Regions from separate parts of the Homo sapiens genome. Here region 2 is linked to region 1. Evidence: promoter capture Hi-C in human tissues and cell types (Jung and others, 2019). All regions are on one chromosome and are shown on one strand. The core of a region is centred on a gene start or on the middle of the fragment in contact, and the rest is flanking DNA. Distances in the headings are between cores, read along the strand shown. Region 1 holds the start of CLVS2 (clavesin 2). Region 2 has its middle 43 kb from the start of CLVS2.

Region 1 (4,387 bases), core at 1,432-3,931:
GCTCAAAAAGTCCACCAACTGACACATCTGAATATTTTCCACTTCCTTCCAAAAGATGAAAAATCACATGAGACAGGAGACAGATTCTTTAGATTAGTGGCAGGTGTAGGACACATACACCAGTCAGTGTACATTTTCAGTGTCAGCAGGCATGCTCAGCGACAGAGGATGCAACTCTTCCTTTCACTGAAGGGACACAAATCATATTATTCCTTCTTCTACACATCACCAAACAGAGAACTTCCCAAGCAACAAAACTACTTGCTTTTGGTCGAACGCCAGGCTATGCTTAAAAGATAAAACGTCAGTACCAAAGAGAGGATGATGATGATGATGATGACAATGATGATGGGTCTAGTTTAAGAATTTTTTTAGGAAGAAGGAGGAAAAGTTGTCCCCATTTTCTTACTGGTTTATCCAGCCCAATAAACTTTTTCAGAAGGTGAAACATACAGAGAAGCTTTATTTACAAGTTAAGTGATTTAGATCTCTGTGCAATAACGTGGTTAAGGTAGCACCTTAAAGCTGCAGTAGAAAGTGGGTGTTAGTGAAGTAAGTTTTAAAAGTAAAAATACAAGCCCTCCTCCCTTCCCAGGGTGCCCACCAAAAACTCATCTCCTGGTTTGTTTCTCTTTTCTCCAAGCCAAATAAACAAAAATATCAAATCTACAAAACCATGACACTACTCGGGGTAAATTCTGGAAAATGGGAGAGTAAAAGGAGAATACAAGTTTGGATTTAGGATTTACCTGCTCTGATCCCAATTGGCAGCAAAAAGGACTAGAATCTTCCTGCCATAGTGGTCCAGATTGGCCAGGCCCCCAGGGAAGCCATCCTTCAGTGCCTGCTTGATGCCAGGGTCGGTGGCCTTAAAGCTTTTGAACATGTCCAGGTTCTGCTGCCGGTACTCAAAGTACTGCGCCAGGAGGCGGAAGGCCTCAAAGTGATGAAACTTCCTAGCCCGCAAGAAGCGTAAGATGAAGGCATCATCCGTGCGCAGAAAGCCAATGTCCGGCCTGGTGATGACCATATCCCTCACCTCCTGGATGTCCTGGTGCAGCGTGTCTGGGTTTTCATTGAGCTCCAGGCGAGCTTTCTCCAGGGTCTCAGGGGAGAGACCGGCTTGCAAATGAGTCATTGTTCTGCCTATCTCTGAGCTTTCCCTCAGAAGACCTTGTTGACTGTCCCAAAGCAAACCTGGTCCTTGCCACCACCAGACTCCAGCCCCCAGACCTCCTGCTGCCTGCTTCCTCTCCCCTACAGGAAATTAATAATCTTGGTGTCCAATCAAGTGCCCTGTTGCTCCTGCTTTCCCCCAGCAAAGCTGGGGGGGCCGGGGGGTGTAAACTTCTTCCTCTGCCCCCTAAAATACAACACCCTACTTTGGCTCCCTCTTTCCTTTCCTTTAAAGAGATGTGAACCCCTGAAGGGCTCCGCACTCCTCTTCTTGTCCTTTCTCTTTCCTAACAAATCACCCCTAATTCCACCTAGCACGGGTGTTTCTGATCTTGGTACTGTCCTCTTCTCTTCTCTTCCAAGATGTAACAAAAACAACCCCCACGCACATCTCAGCCCCTGCACTGTGAATGTTCCTGCGGTCCCTGCTGAAGGATACGCCTGCCAGGGGTGGCGATGGAAATTCTGATTAATAATAAGGTAGCTCTTCAGCGCTGAGCTCCAGGGCGGAGAGAGATCATCTTTGCCAGAAAGAAAAAGAGACAGAGAGAAAGAGGGGGGAGAAAGGAGATTATTTCTCCCTGTACTTATTCAAAGACGCTATTTTTAAAAGACAAATTTGTGTGATTTATTTAAGATTATTGTGATCCAATTAGGTGAAGACTCTGCAGATAGCGCACCTTCCCACCACCCCTCTGAGATACACCGTGATCTCATAAGGCACCAGCAGGGGTTCTGGTGGCGTTGGTACCAGCGTGGGCTCCCCCAACCCCACCCCCAACTTCTGCCTTCCTCTAGCCCTTCATTTCCACGGACTTGCCGCGGGGTTGGAGAAAAGGGGGGAGGGGGAGGGAGGGGACCGGGGATATCTCTGGGAATGCACATTTCAAAAACGAAGAGAAGGGGAGGACGTTGTGAAGAATAAAATAAAAATGTCCTTATCTTTTCTATAAAACCCCAAAGCAAGAAAGAAGAAAGAGCAGCCGCTCCTACCAGCAAACCCAGAGGCGGGGTCGCTAAGCAATGCGGCACTCCCTGGCATCCATCAGCCGCGGCTTCAGCAGCGGCGGCGGCGGCGACAGCGGCATCAACTCCTCTGGGCGGGATGGAAGGAGCAGAGAAGAGGGGTGGCGGCGGGGACCCGGGCCGAAGATGCGCTCGGGAGCAGCCGCGGCCACATCGTCCGCGGGCAGCCCGCAGCCTCTCCTAGCAGGAGGGGTGAGGATCGCAGGGCTAGGGCCACCGCTGTCCCAGGTTCTCGCCTGGCCCTGCCATTTTCGCCTTCGGGAGAGAAGGTGGGGAGGAGGACGCGAACGCCTGGATGGAGAAGGCCACTCGGGCGGCCACCGCCTTTGTGAGCCCTCCGGGAGCAGCCGGGGAGGTGGGCGCAGCGGGGCGGCTGCTGCGCGGCGCTGGCCTCTCCTGGGGCTCTCCCGAGCGGTCCGAGTCAGGGTTGCCCCACCGGGCTGCGGCGGCGGCTCCGGCTGCTGCTGCTGAAAGAGGACTCGGCTCAGCCCAACTCCTCTCTAATTATCCCAGCACAGATCTCGCTGCGACGTAAGCACTCACTCAGCTCGCGCGCGCGCTCCGCTCCTTTCCCTGCCTCGTTGGGGTAGGACGGCAATTTGGGTGGCATCGAAATATCCCGAGCCCTAAGTTTAGGCTGCTCTTCGTCCCCACTCCTCAGCAGGCTGCTGAGCGGGCGTCGCCGGGCCAGGCGGGGCAACCATGCTTTCCAGCCTCCCCACGCCCCTCTCTTCGCCCTTTGTGTGCAAGACCCCAGATCAGCCTGGAGAGTAGCTGTTGTAGACGGTAATTCACATTGACACGCATTTTCTCGTTCCTGTAGGAGGCAATTTTGATGTAGAAGGAGTACGGAAACATTCTGTACTTTTCGCATTTGTTGTAGACAGAGATATTTAATTTAGAAAACACCAGAGTGGTTCCAAGACAATGTACTGATGATTAAGCCTCCGGAGGAACTTATATGAATAGTTTTTCAACCAGTCTCCCTGCTAAATTTCTGTTGAAGAGGATGAAAATGAGCACTAGGGTAAATGATAATAAAAACATAATTCTCAAAGGAAGAAAAAAATAGGAACTTCACTCATATCTCATCATAAAGCAAATATTTCTGGAAACACATACCATCCTTCCTTCAGTTGTATGCATCTGTATATGAGAATCATTATAAATAAACAGAAGTCCTTGCGCTTAATATGACTATCTATGGATTTGAGGAAAAGGGATATTTTCTATTTTCAAAACACAGCACATATTACTGAGCGTGTTACTAAGAGCAACTTTTGACTTTATAAACTGTAGAATGGGGTCTTGAATTGAAGTTAATTCAATGCAACTAATATTTACTGAGTTCCACGAGGTGTGGGGCATTTTTCTGCATTCTGTGTATAGGAGGTGGTCTTGAAGATAAGCAAATTTTGTCATTTTCTTATCTTGACATTTCTTATCTTGTCATTTTCAATGTTGATGACTATGAGAACCCTCAAAATACAGGCACACTTGTTTTTGCTCTTCTCATGGCGATGGTGTTGATAAAAAGAAAGAAGGAAAAGGGTTGTATGGTAGAGCTAGAGCATTTATTAATTAAATTAATGCAAATTAATGTAGGAACCCGAATAAGACAATAAATTACACACACACACACACACACACACACAGTCATTATTGTCAAGGAATTTATGTTTTAAATGGGGAAGGCAGAAAATAAACCACTTAAGTGTGTGTATATGTGTGTTATATATATGCACTATATATAAGGTCCTTCTAGGATTTTAAGTGATTATGACTTTCTCAAGCATGCTGAATGCAATGTGAACTGTTAAATTTTTGGTTCTCATTTTAAAACATTTGAAAAAATCATTTTTTCTAATATTTTAGAGGTTGAAGAAAATTTATGTTTCGTATCAACTGTATGAAGAAGTTTTAGTCATCACCAACATGGAGAGACAATTCTCCCTGGATCCGTTGTGTTTCTACCTGTCTTATGACCAAGGCACTAATTGCCCTTTTTTCTAGACTGTCTTCTCAAGGGTATTTGTACAGTAAATAGTCTTGGAAGATATTGGAAGATAGAGATAGTACCTCCATCTGAAACAAAGCCTTGAAAGCTGTGATATCTCTCTCCTGACCAAAAGGTAGGCAAGCTTATTTGAATTCCCTAAACTCAGAGCTATTCTGCTGTAATGCC
Region 2 (4,616 bases), core at 1,129-3,628, 43 kb after region 1:
GCTGATGTTTCTTTTATGACCAATTTTGTGGTTGATTTTAGAGTATGTTCCAGGTGCAAATGAGAAGAATATAGGATTTTGTTGTTCTTTGGTGGAGAGTTCTGTAGATATATGTTAGGCCCATCTAGTCAAGTGTTCAGTTCAGGTCCTAAATATCTTTGTTAATTTTCTGCATCGATGATGTTTCTAATACTGTCAGTAGGGTATTGAGGTCTCTTACTATTATTGTGTAGTTATCTAAGTCTCTCCATAGGTCTCTAAGAACTTGCTTCATGAATTTGGATGCCTCTGTGTTGGGTGCATAAATATTAAGGATGGTCAAGTCTTTGTGCTGAATTTAACCCTTTACCATCATGTAATGCCCTTCCTTGTCTTTTTTGATGGTTGTTGATTTAAAGTCTGTTTTGTCTGGAAATAGAATAGCAACCTCTCCTTTTTTCTCTTTTCCATTTGCTTGGTATATTTTTCTTCATCCCTTTACTTTGAATCTATGGGTGTCATCGCATGTGAGATGGGTCTCTAGAAGACAGCATACAGTTGGGTCTTTCTTCTTTGTCTAACTTGCCATTCTATGCCTTTTATTTGAGGGCATTTAGCCCATTTATATTTAAGGTTAATATTGATATATGCAAATTTGATCGTGTCATCATGTTGTTAGCTTATTATGTGGATTTGATAGTGTGGTTGCTTTATAGTGTCAATGGACTATATACTTAAATATGTTTTTGTGGTAGCTGGTAATGGTCTTTCATTTCCATATTTAGCACCTCCTTAAGTACTTCTTGTAAGGCAGGTCTGATGGTAACAAATTTCCTTAGCATCTGCTTGTCTGAAAAGGATCTTATTTCTCCTTTACTTATGAAGCTAGTTTGGCTGGATATGAAATCCTTGGTTGGAATTTCTTTTCTTTAAAAATGCCTAATATAGAACCCCACTCTCTTCCAGCATTTTAGATTTCTGCTGAAAGTTCTGCTATTAGCTTGATGGATTTCCCTCTGTAGGTGACCTGCCCCTTTTCTCTAGCTGCCTTTAATATTTTTCTTTCATATTGACCTTGGAGAATCTAATGATTGTGTCTTGGGGATAGTTATCTTACATAGTATTTCACAGGGGTTCTCTGCATTTTCTGAATTTGAATGTTGGCCTCTCCAGTGAGGCTAGAGAAATTTTCATGGACCATAACCTCAAATATGTTTTCTAAGATGCTTGTTTACTCTCCCTCTTTTTTGGGGATGTCAATGAATCATATATTTGGTCTTTTTACATAATTCCATATTTCTTGGAATTTTTTTATTCTTTTTAAATTTTTTCTTTATTTTTGTCTGACTGAGTTAGTTCAAAGAACCAATCTTCAGAATCTGAGATTTTCCTCAGCTTAGTCTATTCTGCTGTTAAAACTTGTGACTGTATTATGAAATCCTTGTTGTGTGTTTTTCAGCTCTATCAGATCAGTTTGGTTATTTTTTATAATGGCCATTTTGTCTTTCAGCTCTTGTATTATTTTATTGTAATCCTTAGTTTCTTTGTATTGGATTTCTACTTTCTTCCAAAAGTCGATGATCTTCCTATACATATTCTGAATTTTGTATCTATCATTTCAGCCATTTCATCCTGGTTAAGAGCCCTTGTTATGGAAATGGTATGGTCATTTGGAGGAAAGAAAACACTCTGGCTTACTGAACTGCCAATGTTCTTGTGCTGGTTCTTTCTGATCTGTGTGGGCTGATGTTTCTTTAACAGTGGTGTAATTTGATTACAGTCAATTGACTTCTTTTCTGGATGAGCTGAGGCCCTAGTGGAGGTAGGGTGACTCATGGGGGATCTCCTGAGCCTAGATTGCAAAGATCCATGGAAGAAGTGTGAATCCCCAGGGACTCTCACTCATTGTTTCCTCACAGTCGGAGGCCTCCCCTAGCTCCACACCACTCCTGGTTGGTTAGTTGTCCAGTCTTGTTCTTCTCCCATTCTCTGTGGGTTGCTTTGCTTCCTTGATGAATCCCAATGTGTTCCTCTGGATGTTCCAGTTGAAGAGCAAGTGTTTACTCACCACTCTCTTCTCTCTATGAGAGCAGCACACGCTAGCTACTTCTAGTTGCCTGTCTTGGCCAGAATCTCTACTCTCTGTTTCTATGAGTTAAACTTTTTAGATTCTGCATATTAGATCATGCAGTATTTATCTTTCTGTGTCTGACTTATTTCACTTAGTGTAATGTCTTCTGTGTTCATCCATGTTGTCACAAGTGACAGGAAATCCTTCTTTTTTAAGGCTGAATATTCCATTGTATATACATACCACAATTTCTTCATTCAGTCATCCATCAATGGACACTTAGGTTGTTTCCATATTTTGGCTATTGTGAATAATGCTGCATTGAACATGAGAGGCAGATATCTTTTTAAGATACTAACTCACTACTCTACTTTCTGCTTCTATGAGTGTGATGATTTTAGATACTTCATATAAGTGGAAACATAGTGTTTGTACTTTTATGACTTTCTCATTTCTCTTATCATAATGTCTTCAAGGTTCATTTATGTTGTAGCATATGATAGAACATTTCTTTTTCAAGGCTGAATAATATTCTCTTATATGTATATACCACATTGTCTTTAACTATTCATCCATTGACACTTAGGTTGTTTTTACCATTTTGCCTTTGCGAATAATGCAGAATAAACATAGGAGGACAAATGCCCCTTTGAGATCCTGTTTTCAACTTTTTGTACAAGTATCCAGAAGTAGGGTTGCTGGATCATGTGGTAGTTTTATTTTTAACTTTTTGAGGAACTTTTGTACTGTTTTCCATAGAAGCGGCCCCATTTTGTATTCCCACCAACAGTGCACAAGTATTCCAATTTCTCCACATCCTTACCAACACTTGCTATTTTCTGGTTGTTGTTTCTGTTCTTCTTGTTTTTGAATAATTGCTATCCTAACAGGTGTAAAGCCATATCCCACTGTGGTTTTGATTCGCATTTCACCTATGATGAGTGCTGAGCATCTTTTTATATACCTGTTGACCACTTGTAAGTCTATTTTGAAAAAAAAAGTCCTTTAAACATTTAAAGGCTTTTTTATATTGAGTTGTGGAAGTTTCTCATATATTTTGGATATTAACCCATCTTTCCTTTGCTGTGCAGAAGCTTTTAGTTTAAAGTAGTCTCACGTGTCTATTTTTGCTTTTGTTGCCTGTGCTTTTGCTGCCTGTGCCTTTGCTGTCATAATCAAGAAAGCATTCCCAACACCGGTGTAATGAAGCTTAAGTTTTTAATCCAATTCGAGTTGATTTTGTGTATGGTGTAAGATAAGGGTTCAATTTTGTTCTGTTTCATGTGGATATCCAATTTTCCCAGAACCATTTATTGAAGTATTGGGTGCTACATATTTTTTTCATTGTGTAGTTTTGGCATGCTTCTCAAAGGTCATTTGACTATATATATGTGGGTTTCTTTCTGATCCCTCTATTTTGTTTCATTTGCCTAAATATCTGTATTTATGCTAGGGTCATACTGTTTATAATACTATGGATTTATAATGTGTTTTGAAGCCAGAAGTGGTGAGGTCTCCAGTTTTGTTCTTTCTCAAGATTGGTTTGGCTATTCAATATCCTTTGTTGTTTCATATGAATATGATAATTTTTTCTCTTTTGGAAAAAAATTTCATTGGGATTTTGACAGAGATTGCATTGAATAGATTTATAATATGTTTTAAAGTCAGGAAGTTTGAGGCCTCCAGTTTTGTTTTTCTTTCTCAAGATTGTTTTAATTATTTGATTGTTTGTGGTTTCATATGAATATGAGATAGAGATTGCATTAAATCTGTAGATCACTTTGCATAGTGTGGACATTCTAACAATATTAATTCCTTCAACCCATCAATATGAGATGTATTTCCATTTACTTGAGACTTCTTTAGTTTTTTTCAGCAATGTTTTATAGTTCAGTGTATATATCTTTTGCCTACTGGTTAACTTTATTCGTAAGTATAAGTTGAAATATTCCTTCTGATGCTATTGTAAATGGGAATATTTCTTAATTTCCTTTTTGGCTTGTTTTTAGTGTATAGAAACACAACAGATTTTTGTGTGTTGATTTTGTATCCTGAAAATTTGCTGAATGTATTTATTAGTTTTAAAAATTTTTGGAGGATCTTTGAGTTTTCTACACATATCATCATGCCTTTTGAGAACAGACATAATTGTAAGTCTTTCTTTCTAATTTAGATGCCATTTATTTCTTTTTCTGGCCTAATTGTCCTGAGTAGGACTTCCAGTACTATGTTGAATAGAAGTGATGAGAGTGGGTATCCTTGTCTTGTTCCAGATCTTAGAGAAAAAGCTTTCAGTTTTTCTCCATTTAGTGTAATGTTAGCTGTGGGCTTTTCATATAAAGTCTTTATTATGCTGATCTGATTTTCTTCTATTCCTTATTTGTTAAGTGTTTTTTTATCATGAAAGAATATTGAATTTTGTCAGATGCTTTATCTGCATCTATTGAGATGATCAAATAATTTTTCTCCTTCTTTCTGTTAATGTGGTATATAACACTGATTGATTTTCATATGGTGAATTATCCTTGCATCCCAGGGATAAATCTCACAAGGTCATGGTGCATAA

What was found. Contacts are between HindIII fragments. The study calls those that stand out against the background at their distance.
Region 2: a fragment that was not itself captured here is called in contact with the fragment with the promoter of CLVS2 in region 1 in 8 of the 25 tissues and cell types used here (aorta, bladder, heart left ventricle and 5 more).

Annotation. Positions count from the first base shown.
Region 1 is chr6:122,994,529-122,998,915 of GRCh38, reverse strand. It overlaps CLVS2 (clavesin 2), which reads right to left and starts at 2,681. Exons shown (of 6, transcript NM_001010852.4): 1 at 2,170-2,681; 2 at 750-1,697. The coding sequence starts at 1,138. It overlaps LOC124901392 (a long non-coding RNA gene), which reads left to right and starts at 3,996. Exons shown (of 2, transcript XR_007059733.1): 1 at 3,996-4,334. The HindIII fragment of the contact is 5,962 bases long and covers 669-4,387 here.
Region 2 is chr6:122,951,221-122,955,836 of GRCh38, reverse strand. No RefSeq gene overlaps it. Among named protein-coding and RNA genes, the nearest start is that of CLVS2, 43 kb to the left of the region's middle. The HindIII fragment of the contact is 7,241 bases long and covers 1-4,616 here.